5 separate regions of the Homo sapiens genome follow, and regions 1, 3, 4 and 5 are each linked to region 2. The links are contacts of gene promoters, found by promoter capture Hi-C in human tissues and cell types (Jung and others, 2019). All regions are on one chromosome and are shown on one strand. The core of a region is centred on a gene start or on the middle of the fragment in contact, and the rest is flanking DNA. Distances in the headings are between cores, read along the strand shown.

Region 1 (2,735 bases), core at 161-2,660, 440 kb after region 2:
GTTTATTTCTCATTGTTTTGGGGTCTGGGAAGTCCAAGATTATGGCGCCAGCAGATTGAGTGTCTGGTAAGGAGCTGCTTTCTGGTTCATCCAGGGCTTCTCACTGAGTCCTTATGTGGTGGAAGAAGGATTTCTCTGGGACCTCTTTTATAAGGGTGCTAATCCCATTAATGAGGGGTTCAGCCTCATGACCTAATCACCTTCCAGTAGCTCCATCTTCTAATACCATTGAGATGGGGGTTAGGATTTCAGCGTATGAATTTTGGGGAGACATAAATATGCAGACCACCGTAGGCCAAGACTTCAGATTGGGGTAGGTGGCAGGCACTTATTTCACTTCTTTCTGAAGGAGCTTGTTACTGACAGATTATCATTTTAGGTCCTTTAGTTCAAGCTTGTCTGACCCACGACCCAACACAAATTCGTAAACTTTCTTAAAACATTATGAGTTTTTTGTTTTTTGTTTGTTTGCTTGTTTTAGCTTATCAGCTATCGTTAGTGTTAGTGTATTTTATATGTGGCCCAAGACAGTTATTCTTCTTCCAGTGTGGGCCAGGGAAGCCAAAAGATTGGCTCCTGCTTTAGGTCTTTTTTTTTTTTTTTTTTTTTAAGACAGAGTTTTGCTCTTGGTTGCCCAGGCTGGAGTGCAATGGCACAGTCTCGGCTCACTGCAACTTCTGCCTCTCGAGATCAAGTGATTCTCTTGCCTCAGCCTCTTGAGTAGCTGGGATTACAGGCACCTGCCACCACGCCCAGCTAATTTTTTTGTATTTTTAGTACAGACGGGGTTTCACCATGTTGTCCAGGTTGATTTTGAGCACGTGACCTCAAGTGATCTACCTGCCTTGGCCTCCCAAAGTGCTGGGATTACATGTAGGTGTAAGCCACTGGGCCTGGCCTAGGTCATCATTTTTTAAACAACCCTGTAAAATCTCACCAAGATTTTTCACTTGTTTCCAGATTATAATGGATTCTGTTTGACTCTGGTCTCCAGGTTGTCAAATGACATATTTTCAGGATATAAGACTATAAGTAGACTTTTCTATTAACAGTAAAGCTTGTGAATCTTGGTTTGATATGTACAAACAGAGCCACCACTATGTACCCCAGTTTCTGGTTGGAGTGACAGAATGAGAACACAGCCAATTTCTGAGCAGCTAGCGGTTTGGGGACACAGTAGGAATTTAATACTGGGTGATCGTTGTATCTTACAAGGTGCATCCTCAAGTAGTAATAACTCATTTGTCAGAGATATATGGTGGTGTTTTGCAGTGATTTGCAAACTGTGTTCTCTGCTGATACGTTAGGGGTTCTCCAAACAAAATTTAAATCTGACAGTGAAGATGAATTGAGACTCCTTCACGCTGTTATCTCAGCACAGGTGAGGGTGAGGCACTTGATGTTAGGAAAACCTTGCTTTAACCCATGTGTCTTTGCGATGGAACAGAAGGATAAGCGAGCCGCTTTGAAAATCAGATTGAATTTTTTTTTTGTAGTAAAGTTTTATCAAACATTTAAGACCTTTACAAACTTGACTAAATTTTGTTATTCATTTCAAATTAATATCAGAAATCTAATGTGTTACATTTTCTTTTTTTTAATATATATTTTAAATTATACTTTAAGTTCTAGGGTACATGTGCACAACGTGCAGGTTTGTTACATATGTATACATGTGCCATGTTGGTGTGCTGCACCCATTAACTCGTCATTTACATTAGGTATTTCTCCTAATGCTTTCCCTCCCCCTCCCCCCACCCCACAACAGGCCCCAGTGTGTGACATAAATTTTATGTCAGATAATGTAGAACAGAGAAGCATCAAAAAATGACTCAATGGTCTTGATAAATTCATTTGAAGATGAAATTATGTTAAAATTTTATAGTTCAGTAATTTAAAAGTATATTATAGTTTTTTTCTTTTTGTTTTGGATGATTTGCATGTAAACAAGTGTAAGGAATCTTTGTAAAGCATCAGAAGAAAATTTTAGGTGTTTTGATGTTCATTAACAGACTATTAGCAAGATGTCAAAGGAATAATAATGCCTGTGCAGATGGTAACTGCTTTGTTCTGTTCCTCTTTTCCCCCAAAACAGATTTGTAAAAATTGTATTTGTTACATTATTCACAAACCTTTTCTACAAAATATATACCAAACTGGGTTCTTTTGAAAGATTTTTCTAGTAATTTTTAGGTCATTTCCATATATATTATGTGCAGTTTAAAAAGCAAACCAACCCTAGTTTGTTAAATAATTACCCTGTTTTTACTTAAAAAAAATGGGGTTGTGCACCTGTGTAAAGTTTGTACATCTTAGCAGTATAAATTACTGACACATTTTTAAAAATGAAGTAAAAACTCAGAATCCTTGTGATTCAGTGCCCTTATGTTTTTAAAAAAGAGGAAAAAATAATGCAAGATTCAGAATATTGGAGTGGTTGATATGCCTTCTTCATTTTAGTTTTTGACTGGCTGCTCATATGCCGATGATGATGAAGCTGAGCTGTTTGTGCCACTGCCATTTGATGCTGCGAGAATCACAACTGTTTCATCTGTTGCTGCTGCTATTAAAAGGCAGAGTAGTAACTGGCCACTGAATTAAATTTAAAAGAAAGGCAGGGGAGAGCCGGCATCTCTGCTGAGGATGGCTTTGCTTAGGTCTTTTCTTAGCCCTGCAACTACTTAACACTTCATATGCTTGCTGAAGGGGTAGGTCTGCCCTTGACTGGTTGAACC
Region 2 (2,709 bases), core at 194-2,693:
GCCTATCTGGGCCTGTGAGCTCACCATGCAAAGGAGCTGGACCACAGAATTCTGAGTCCTTTCTAGCTCTAAACACTGTGGCCCTAAGTATCTATATGTGAAACAAAATTGTCCTGACATTTGTCTCTGGGTACTGAACTATTAGGAGATTTTGATTTTTTCATCTCCATTTTGCAAACAGTCTGTACTAAGATTACACTACTGTGTTTCTGTTTTGTGTGTATTCAGAAGCACAAAAAGTCTGTGGTTCTAGAAAGGAAATAGAAAAGTTCTTAAAAAAAAAAAAGTGGGGAAGTGAAACAAATGTTAAAGTCAGAGGAGAAAGAAAGGCCCAACCGGAGGCCCCAAATCCACCCAGAGCCCAGAAGCCCGGGTTTCCCACCGACCGGCTGCGGTCTTTGTCAGCTCTCTGGCGCTATCTGCTGTCCTTCTCGATAACAACCGTTTAATTTGGTTTGCAAAATTGCTCTGACGCAAATCCACCGTGAACACTGACGGGGTCACATTCAGCATAAAAATCGCATTCTGTTTACAGGAAAATCTGGCCCCATACTTGCTCCCATATTCACTTTTGACTTTGCCTTGCAGTACTAACTGTAACAGGGACACCTGAGCAAGTCCCTTCTGTATAAGGCCCAAAATGGTCACCCAATACCAATGAGTCTCTTGCTTTGGAAAGCCCAGGAATGCACCTCCAGCCCCTTCTGCGCAGCGCTCGGACACCATGTAGAGGAGAAGGCACTCTGCAGAACTCGCCCTCAGCCCGCACCACCTGTCCAGGGGACTGGCTGCGTGTCAATGTGTCTCTGCTCCCGGGGTTCCCGCAGATCTTTAACTTATTGGCCTTTGGGCTAATTCAGTCCTTCAAGCATTCCTCGCCCAACATGCCAGGAAGTCTTCTCACGTGTCTTCCACCCCATACCTACCAGTTCTGTTTTCCCACTACCCGATGAAAGTGTAACCGCCCCCCGGCGCCCCCCCCCCCCACCACCACACACACACCCTGTTGGTCCCATCCTCAGGGCGTGGTGGTCCAGGTGAACGCTTGCCCTCTTTTTGAGCTGAACCTCCCCACAGAGGCTGTCAGCAAAGACTGCTTTGCTGTCCAAGGCCGGCCTTTAGGTACAGGACACTATGCATGTCCAGCGAGGCTTGTTGAAGCCACATCTGTCATAGATATTGATGGGAAAAGCATTTTCCTTCTAACACATCTCATTCCAATTCTAAAAGGCACCTCTGAAGCCTTGCTGAACTTCATCAAGATTTTCACGTGGTTTCCTTAGTAAAGTGTGATGAGAAGGTCCATCCTTCTCAGGATGAAGGAGTGGTCCAGGAAGCCCTGATTGGTCTGCCGGGGAGGGAAGGGCTGCCTTATTTGGAGACCTGCAGGAATGCCACCTCCCCCGGCAGCTCCTATATAGCTGGGCGGACCTGGCTGCCAAGAGGGTGTGCTGGGGGACTGTGCAGCTCGAGGCTCCAGAGGCACACTCCAGAGAGAGCCAAGGTACGTGGGGGGCCACTTCTGTGGTCAGGACTGCTGGTTTCTTATCAAGGCTCGATCCCAGATTGAAAATCATGCAATGATTTCTTTACTCCCACACCTGGGGATGGGTCCCAAGTTCAGGGTAGACTTGCGAGGATACCCAGTCATCACTGGGCTTGCCTTTCTCTAAGTTGGTGCTATAATAAAATGCTACTTTAGGGTTTGTGGGTTGGGATTTTGTTTTGCCTTTAAGCTTCTGCCTATGAAAACTAATCTCTTTCTCAAGAATGCTGTGCTTTTATTTTTTTTATTTGACTCACCTGAAATGATCTATTATGCCATTAATCTTATTTAAGATTTCTCCTTAAAAAAGGAATGATGTGGAGTATGGCCCTATTTAGGAGACTAATGAATATTTGCTTCATGCTTGGATCTCTTTGGAGAAAGTCAGTCTGAGTTCACTGTGCTCAGGAGGCAGAGAGAGTGGGGTGAGGGGGTCCAGATGCTCATAGCCACCCTGGGACAAAGACGAGGCGATGTCTACAAGCAAGGAAAGGTCAGTGAGGCCTCTTTGCAGGCTTCTAGAGATGACTGGATGTGCTTCTAGAGATCACTTCAGCTGTGTTTTGCCTTTTTTTTTTAATATAAGGAGCAATGTGGCATCAGAGTTGAACATTTTATCAGAGGAACATTAGCCACTTTTAGGGAAGCTGCAGCAGGGTGGTGGAGGGTGTGTGAGGGGCGAAACAAGCTCCCTGTCAGCCTCCTCCAGCTCTGGGGCCCCATGGCCTCACAGTAAGTCTTTGCCTAGGAGACAGCTTAGGCAAGCTCCGGTATGGGAACTCCTTCCATTTCCCTAATCCACACAGGCAAAGACCCAGGTGCTAGAATGCCCTGACAGTCGGCCTTGGGAAGTGGATTTCCTTGATGGCTATTGTAGATTCAGGAGCCGAATGTGACAGGCAACCTTAAGGTGTGGGGTGAGGGGCTTTTCCATGACATCAGTGGCAGCCCTTCGGATGTCCCAGGGCCACCTTGACCCGGGACCCTCCTGGTGTTCCCCCAGGCCCTCCTGTCTTCCCTTTCATCTCGTTTTCTCCGAAATTCCTCAAGGGCCCTGCCCTTTGCCCTTTGCCCAGCTCAGGGGGCATCATACCCAGTGAGTGAAAAGCACAGTGTGTGAGCACTGTCTTCTCCTGAAACCCAGATGGGCAGTGGGGCATGGC
Region 3 (2,688 bases), core at 43-2,542, 320 kb after region 2:
CTTGGCGCTGCATGACGAACACCTGTGGATGGTTAAAAACTGCACTGCAGGTTACTTCCCTCAGAGCCTCTGGGGTGGGACCCAGGCTTCCGTATTTTTTTTTAAGCCCCTTAGGTAATTTCATTGTGTGCACAGGGCTGAAAACTGCCTGAGGCTGCAGTCTCTCAAGTGCTAGTTCACACAGATATTTATTTATTTATTTTTTGAGACAGAGTTGCGCTCTTGTCATCCAGGCTGAAGTGCAATGGCGCAATTTTGGCTCACTGCAGTCTCCGCCTCCCAGGTTCAAGAGATTCTTCTTCCACAGCCTGCCGAATAGCTGGGATTACAGGTACGCGCCACCATGCCGGGCTAACTTTGTATTTTTAGTAGAGACGGGGTTTCACCATGTTTCACCATGTTGTCCAGGTTGCTCTCAAAATCCCGACCTCAGGTGATCCACCTACTTTGGCCTCCCAAAGTGCTGGGATTACAGGCATGAGCCACCATGCCCGGCCACACACAGATAAATTTAAACGTTCCCTACAGGTCTTTGTTGGGTCCTTTTGGAAGCAACTCCTGCCCCCGTGCCCCACAAAGGAGCATTTTCTTGTATGTGTCAGAATCATTTCTCTTTTCCCCTACCCCACTGCAAACCCCACCCAAGTTCAGAAGAAAAATACCTTCAAGAACTCTGACCAGATAGAGGAAAAGTGCATTGACTCAATCTACCTCCTTCCTCACTCCCTTCTTGGAGGAGGCCCCTTCCCAAAAGACCTTCCTGGAAAAATCTTCCTTTGGTGTCTCCAAGGAACTATGCTCTCCAGGGCACGCAACAACAGAGTAAGAATTCATCTACCACTAAAGACTGAATATAGTATGCAGTATAAAACTATTTAAAAGGGCCAGACGCGGTGGCTCATGCCTGTAATCCCAGCACTTTGGGAGGCCGAGGCGGGTGGATCACGAGGTTAGGGGTTCAAGACAAGCCTGGCCAAGATGGCAAAACCCCATCTCTACTAAAAATACAAAAATTAGCCGGGCATGGTGGCGGACACCTGTAATCCCAGCTACTCAGGAGGCTGAGACAGAGAATTGCTTGAACCCGGGAGGCAGAGGTTACGAGATCACACCACTGTATTCCAGCTTGGGCGACAGAGCAAGACTTCATCTCAAAAAAAAAAAAAAAACTTATTTAAAAGAAGGCGCCAGGCCAGGGTCGGTGGCTCACGCCTGTAAATCCCAGCACTTTGGGAGGCCAAGGTGGGGCAGATCACCTGAGGTCAGGAGTTCGAGACGAGCCTGGCCAACACGGTGAAACCCTGTCTCTACTAAAAATATAAAAATTAGCCAGATGTGGTGGTGCGTGCCTGTAATCCCAGCTACTCAGGAGGCTGAGGCAGGAGGATCACTTGAACCTGGGAGGCGGAGGTCGCAGTGAGCCGAGATCACGCCACTGCACTCCAGCCTGGGTGACACAGCAAGACTCCGTCTCATAAATAAATAAATAAGGCACCATAACAAAATACAGTTTATCCTAAACATGGTTTAATAGTTGGGAAGTTGGTCATATTATGTCTTTTTCCTAAATACATGCAGAGGTAAGAGACCTAACCCTGGGAGTGTGTTTGGAGGAATGAATGCTTTAAAATCAATCCCAGAATCGGTAAGTGTAATGCACAACAGTAACTGAATGACAGACAAAAACCACATGATCATCTTAGTCAATGCACAAAAAGCTTTTGAAAAAGTTCAACACGCTTTCATGATTAAAAAAAAAATGCAGCAAACTAGAAATAGAAGAAAACTACCACAATATGATAGCCATATATGAAAACCCCATAGTTAAATCATACTCAATGATGCAAGACAAACTTTTTCCTCGAAGATCAGGAACAAGACAAGAATGCCCACTTTCACCACTTCCATACCACGTAGTCTTGGAATTTCTAGATAGAGCAATTAGGCAAAAAGGAAGAAAAGGAAAGAAAAGAAAAAAGAAAAGGAAAAGGAGGGAATAGAAAGAAAAGAAGAAAGAAAGAAAATGCATCCAAATTGGAAAGGAAGAAGGAAAATTATTATTCATAGATTATATGATCTTAGAAAACCCTAAAGATTCCACAAAAAACCCTTTGGAACTACTAAACAAATTTGGCAAAGCAGCAGGACACAAAAGCAATACATGAAAATCAGTTGTGTTACTATATACTAACAAAGAACAATCTGAAAATGAAATTAAGAAAATAATTCTATTTATAATAGCATAAAAAGAATACAGCTGGGTGCGGTGTCTCACGCCTGTAATCCCAGCATTTTGGGAGGCTGAGGCAGGCAGATCACATGAGGTTGGGAGTTCGAGGCCAGCCTGACCAACATGGAGAAACCCCTTCTCTACTAAAAATACAGAATTAGCTGGGCATGGTGGTACATGCCTGTAATCCCAGTTACTCGGGAGGCTGAAGCAGGAGAATCGCTTGAACCCCATAGGTGGAGGTTGTGGTAAGCTGAGATCGTGCCATTGCACTCCAGCCTGGGCAACAAGAGCGAAACTCCATCTCTAAAAAAAAAAAAAGGAATAAAATAGTCATTGAAAGACTTGTGCAATGAAAACCACAAAACATTGCTGAAAGCAATTTTAAAAGACATAAATAAATGGAAAGATACCCTATGTTTATGGATTGAAAGACTTCATATTGTTAAGATGTCAAA
Region 4 (2,688 bases), core at 48-2,547, 270 kb after region 2:
TGAGGCAGGAGAATTGCTTGAACCAGGGAGGCGGAGGTTGCAGTGAGCCAAGATCACACCATTGTACTCCAGCTTGGGCAACAAGAGCAAAACTCCACCTCAAAAACAAAAAGTAGCTGACCGTGTGTGGTGGCTCACGCCTGTAATCCCTGCACTTTGGGAAACCGAGGGGGGGCCAATCACCTGAGGTCAGGAGTTCGAGATCAGCCTGGCCAACATGGTGAAACCCTGTCTCTATTAAAAATACAAAAATTGGCTGGACACAGTGGCTCACACCTGTAATCCCAGCACTTTGGGGGGTTGAGGCAGGTGGATCATGAGGTCAAGAGTTAGAGACCAGCCTGGCCAACATAGTGAAACCCTGTCTCTATTAGAAATACAAAAATTTGCCAGGCATGGTGGCACACACCTGTAGTCCCGGCTACTCGGGAGGCTGAGGCAGGAGAATCACTTGAACCCAGGAGATGGAGGTTGTGGTGAGCTGAGATCGCGCCCCTGCACTCCAGCCTAGCGATAGAGAGAGACTTCGTCTCAAAAAAAAAAAAAGAAAGAAAGAAAAAAAAAATTAGCCAGGTGTTCAGGCACCTGTAATCCCAGCTACTAGGGAGGCTGAGACAGGAGAAGCGCTTGAACCTGGAGGTGGAAGTTGCAGTGAGCCAAGATTGCGCCATTGCACTCCAGCTGAGCAGCAAGAGTGAGACTCTGTCAAGGAAAGGGAAAGGGAAAGGGAAAAGGAAAAGAAATCGCTAACTAGGCCGGGCGCGGTGGCTCACATTTGTAATCCCAGCACTTTGGGAGGCCGAGGCGGGTGGATCACAAGGTCAGGAGGGAGTTCGAGACCAGCCTGACCAATGTGGTGAAACCCCATCTCTACTAAAAATACAAAAATTAGCCGGGCATGGTGGTGGGTGCCTGTAGTCCCAGCTACTCAGGAGGCTGAGGCAGGAGAATCACTTGAACCTGGGAGGCAGAGCTTGCAATGAGCCGAGATCGCTGCTGCACTCCAGCCTGGGTGACAGAGCGAGACCCCGTCTCAAAAAAAAAAAAAAGAAAAAGAAATAGCTAACTATAGGAAGGAGGAAAAAAAAAGACAAAATGATCATTTGCAGCTACAAGTTAAGTATTCCTTGTATAAAATGCTTGGGACCAGAAGTGTTTCAAATTTTGTATCTTTTCTGATTTTGGAATATTTGCATATATATATAGTGAGATATCTTGAGAATGGGACCGAAGTCTGAACACAAAATTCATTTATGTTTCATATACGCCTTAGACACATAGCCTGAAGGTAATTCTACTCAATATTTTAAATAATTTTGTGTATAATGGCCAGGTGCAACGGCTCACACCTGTAATCCTGGCACTTTGGAAGGCCAAAGCAGGAAGATCGCTTGAGCCTAGGAGATTAAGGCTGCAGTGAGCCATGATCTTGCCACTATACTTCAGCCTGAGTGACAGAGCAAGATCCCTTAAAAAAAAAAAAATTTGCATATGAAATAAAGTTTTGACTGCAACCCATGACATGAGGTCAGGTGCGGAATTTTCCACTCGTGGCATCCTGTCAGTGCTCAAAAGTTTCCCATTTTAGATTTGGGGATTAGAAATGCTCAATGTGTATTATGATTACCTATCTAAGAAACTCAAGAGAATCTACTGAAAAATAAGAACAACAGAGTTTGGTTAAGTAGCATAGCAGACACGGTGCTATTACATTTTCCTCACGGACACACCAAAGGACTCCACTTCCCAGCCCCCTTGCACCTAAAATACAGCCAACAGACCGCAGAAGAAATACTACTACTTCCAAGCTTGGCCCATGAAAAAAACTTCCATGCACAAAATTACACGGCAAACTTAAGGTCACATCTTCTTGTCAGTTGTGACAAAAATGGAAGGAGCCCAGATCCCCAAGTCACCACTTAGAAAAGAACCATCTAAAAAAGTGTGAGCAAGAAATAAATGTTTTCTTTGTCAGGCCACAGATTTTAACTAGCATTACCTACCCTGACTAATACAGGTTATAAAACATACAGACTGGCCAGGTGCAGTGGCTCATCCCTGTAATCCCAGCACTTCAGGAGACCAAGGCAGAGGATTACTTGAGGCTGGGAGCTGGAGGCCAGCCTGGGCAACACAGCAAGATTCCATCTCTAGCTTATTTTTTATTTTATTTTATGGTTTTTTTTGAGACAGAGTCTCACTCAGTGGCCTGGGCTGAAATGCAGTGGCGCGATCTCGACTCACTGCAACCTCCGTTTCCTGGGTTCAATTGATTCCCATGCTACTCAGCCTCCTGAGTGGCAGGGACTACAGGCATGCACCACCACAACCAGCTAATTTTTTTTTTTTTTAATAGAGTGGGGGTTTCACCATGTTGGCCAGGCTGGTCTTGAACTCCTGGCCTCAGGTGATCCACCCACCTCGGCCTCCCAAAGTGCTGGGATTTCAGGCGTGAGCCACTGCCCCGGCCTCCATCTCTTATCTTATTATAAAAACAAGGCCGGGCACAGTGGCTCACGCCTGTAATTCCCAGCACTGTTGGAGGCCAAGGCAGGTGGATCGCTAGAGGTCAAGAGTTCAAGACCAGCCTGACCAACATGGTGAAACCCTGTCTTTACTAAAAACACAAAAGTGGCCAGGCATGGTGGAACAGGACTGTAATTCTACATCGGAGGCTGAGGCAAGAGA
Region 5 (2,796 bases), core at 157-2,656, 420 kb after region 2:
TTTCTTTTTCCATGTCTGTGATTTCCTGGCTTATAATTCTGAAAGCCCTTATTAAAGTCTCTTGTTATAACTTTGGGGCACTTGGAAACTCAGAAGCAGGCCTCCAAAAATAAAATCTCCCTCTCTGACCATCTCCTCCTCCCCTTTCTCCTGCTCCTTTCTCTCCCCAAGGCAGGAATCTTCTCCTGCCTTTCTATCTTGGAGCTGGCCATAAAAAATTATCTGGCTTTCCTTGTTTGATTGCTATAAGACCCTCATTTCAAAACCCTATATCCTGGAGGAAAGACTGCTGCACAGGGAGGCTAAGAAGAATCTGAACAGACAGGCCTTGCTGGGTTTCCCCACTTAGTCTATTAGTATTAGATAGTATCCTTTTTGTTTAGTCACATTTCTGCATGGTTGTCCATGCAATGTGTGCATCTAATGAAGTCTCTATAAAAGGCTTTAGAGGACAGGGTTCAGGGAACTCCTGAGTAGCTGAACATGTGGAGGCTTACAGGAAGGTGAACACATGCTGGGGGGGTGGTGCACCCCAGCTCCACTGGGACAGAAGCTCTTGCACTGGAGACTCCGAAGCTCTTGCAATGGGGACTCTTCCAGACCTCTCCCTATATATCTCTTCATCTGGCTGTATATTTGTATCCAATATGCAAATATTGTATATTTGTATCCAATATACAATATTGTATTGGGTGGGGGGTGATGGGGACTCCAGCTTGAAACTGGTAGATCAGAAATTCTTGAGCCTCAGATCTACAACTGATGGAAAAGAGGGGGTGGTCATGTGGGACTGAGCTCTCAACCTGTGGTTTCTGAAGCTATCTCTAGGCAAATAGTGGCTGAAGTGAATTGAATTGGATGGTACCCAGCTACTGTCCGCTGCAGAATTGATTGCTTGTTGAGTGTGTGGGGAGACATCCAAAACATTTGGTCACAGAAGTCTTCTGTGATTGTTGTTACAGTGTGAGAACAGAGGGAAAAAAAACGAGTTTGAGTTTTACCACTTTCACACACTACTCTCTCTGATTTCAAAAAACATGGAAGAGTGGGGAGTGATAGAGATAGATATGAAAGGTAAAACATATAGATTAAAAGACTTTAGGTGCTGGTTCACTTGTGCCTGTAATTCCAGCGCTCTAAAGGCTGAGGTGGGAGGATGGCTTGAGGCCAGGAGTTCAAGACAAGCCTGAGCAATAGAGTGAGACCCTATCTCCTAAATAAAATATTTAAGGCCGAGTGCGGTGGCTCACATCCATAATCCCAGCACTTTGGGAGGCTGAGGCAGGTGGGTCAATTGAGGTCAGGAGTTTGAGACCACCCTGGCCAGCATGGTGAAACCCCATCTCTACTAAAAATAGAAAAATTAGCCTGGCATGATGGTGCATGCCTGTAATCCCAGCTGCTCGGGAGGTTGAGGCAGGATAATCGCTTGAACCCAGGAGGTGGAGGTTGCAGTGAGCCAAGATCACGCCACTGCATTCCGACCTGGGTAACAGAGCAAGACTCCATCTAAAAAAAAAAACTTAAGGCATATTAATGATTTCTGGATCTAATTTGGATCCTGATCCAATCAAACTGCAATAAAGAGAAAGAATTGAAGTTATTGGGTAAATTTGAATATTGGATATTTAAAATAAAGGAATTGTTAATTTTTTAGGTGTGATATTGGCATGGTGATGTATATTCCTCCTGTATAAAAAGCACTAACCATAAAAGAAACTGTTGGTAAATTGAGCAACATTAAAATTAAGAACTTATGTTTATTGAACCACAGTATTAAGAGTGAAAAGGAAGGCCACAGGCAATGAGAAGATATTTATAACAAATGTATCTGATGCAGGGCTAATTTCTAGAATCTATAAATAATTACTTCAAAATAAATGTATATAAAAAGACAACTCAGTAGAAAAATGGGCACTTTGTTTTTTTATTTTTTTTGAGACAGGTTCTCACTCTGTTGCCCGGTTGGAGTGCAGTGGCTCACCAAAGCCTCAAACTGCTGGGATCAAGGGATCCTCCTGCCTTTGCCTCCCTAATAGCTGGAAATACAGGCAAACACCACCATGTCTGGCTAATTTTTGTATTTTTTTGTAGAAACAGAGTCTCACTATGTTGACCAGGCTGGTCTTGAACTCCTGGGCTCAAGCATTCCTCCTGCCTCAGCCTCCCACAGTGCTGGTATTATTGGTGTGAGCTACCATGCCCAGCCAAAAATGGGCACTTCAGATGATCAATAAACATGAAAAGATGCCTAGTATCATTAGCCATCTGAGAGGTGCAAAATTAAAACCCTCGATAAGATACAACTGCACACCCACTAGATTGGCTAAAATTAAAAAGAATGAAAACTTTGACGGTTGGCAAGTATATGGAGCAAGAGGACCTTTCATAGACTGCTTGAGGGAGTATAGATTGGCACAATCATTCTGGAAAACTGCTTGACAATATTTACTAAAGCTAAATATACACAGACTTTGTGACCAAGCAGTTCCACTCTTAGGTGATTGCCCAGTAGAAATCTGTACATGTATTCACTGAAAGTCAAGTTCCAGAACATTCAAAGCAGTGTTCTTTGTAGTAGCCCCAAACTTCAAACAATCCAAATTGTGAATAATGCTGCTAGGAACATGAGTGTACAAATATCTGTTTGAGTCTCTGCTTTCAGTTCTTTTTCTTTTTCTTCTTCTTCTTCTTCTTTTTTTTTTTTTTTTTGAGACAGAGTCTTGCTCTGTCATCCAGGCTGGAGTGCTGTGAATAATGCTGCTAGGAACATGAGTGTACAAATATCTGTTTGAG

The links. Contacts are between HindIII fragments. The study calls those that stand out against the background at their distance.
Region 1: a contact is called between a fragment that was not itself captured here and the fragment with the promoter of PRND in region 2, in 1 of the 25 tissues and cell types used here (spleen).
Region 3: a fragment that was not itself captured here is called in contact with the fragment with the promoter of PRND in region 2 in 1 of the 25 tissues and cell types used here (lymphoblastoid cells).
Region 4: a fragment that was not itself captured here is called in contact with the fragment with the promoter of PRND in region 2 in 1 of the 25 tissues and cell types used here (spleen).
Region 5: a fragment that was not itself captured here is called in contact with the fragment with the promoter of PRND in region 2 in 1 of the 25 tissues and cell types used here (lymphoblastoid cells).

The regions. Positions count from the first base shown.
Region 1 is chr20:5,157,577-5,160,311 of GRCh38, forward strand. All of the region lies in intron 1 of CDS2 (CDP-diacylglycerol synthase 2), which reads left to right. Among named protein-coding and RNA genes, the nearest start is that of CDS2, 32 kb to the left of the region's middle. The HindIII fragment of the contact is 3,264 bases long and covers 1-2,735 here.
Region 2 is chr20:4,720,466-4,723,174 of GRCh38, forward strand. PRND (prion like protein doppel) reads left to right here and starts at 1,444. Exons shown (of 2, transcript NM_012409.4): 1 at 1,444-1,504. RefSeq lists an enhancer at 147-366. The HindIII fragment of the contact is 13,371 bases long and covers 1-2,709 here.
Region 3 is chr20:5,044,251-5,046,938 of GRCh38, forward strand. No RefSeq gene overlaps it. Among named protein-coding and RNA genes, the nearest start is that of SLC23A2, 44 kb to the left of the region's middle. RefSeq lists a silencer at 989-1,208. The HindIII fragment of the contact is 5,043 bases long and covers 1-2,688 here.
Region 4 is chr20:4,988,202-4,990,889 of GRCh38, forward strand. All of the region lies in intron 1 of SLC23A2 (solute carrier family 23 member 2), which reads right to left. Among named protein-coding and RNA genes, the nearest start is that of SLC23A2, 12 kb to the right of the region's middle. The HindIII fragment of the contact is 6,103 bases long and covers 1-2,688 here.
Region 5 is chr20:5,140,935-5,143,730 of GRCh38, forward strand. All of the region lies in intron 1 of CDS2 (CDP-diacylglycerol synthase 2), which reads left to right. Among named protein-coding and RNA genes, the nearest start is that of CDS2, 15 kb to the left of the region's middle. The HindIII fragment of the contact is 5,707 bases long and covers 1-2,796 here.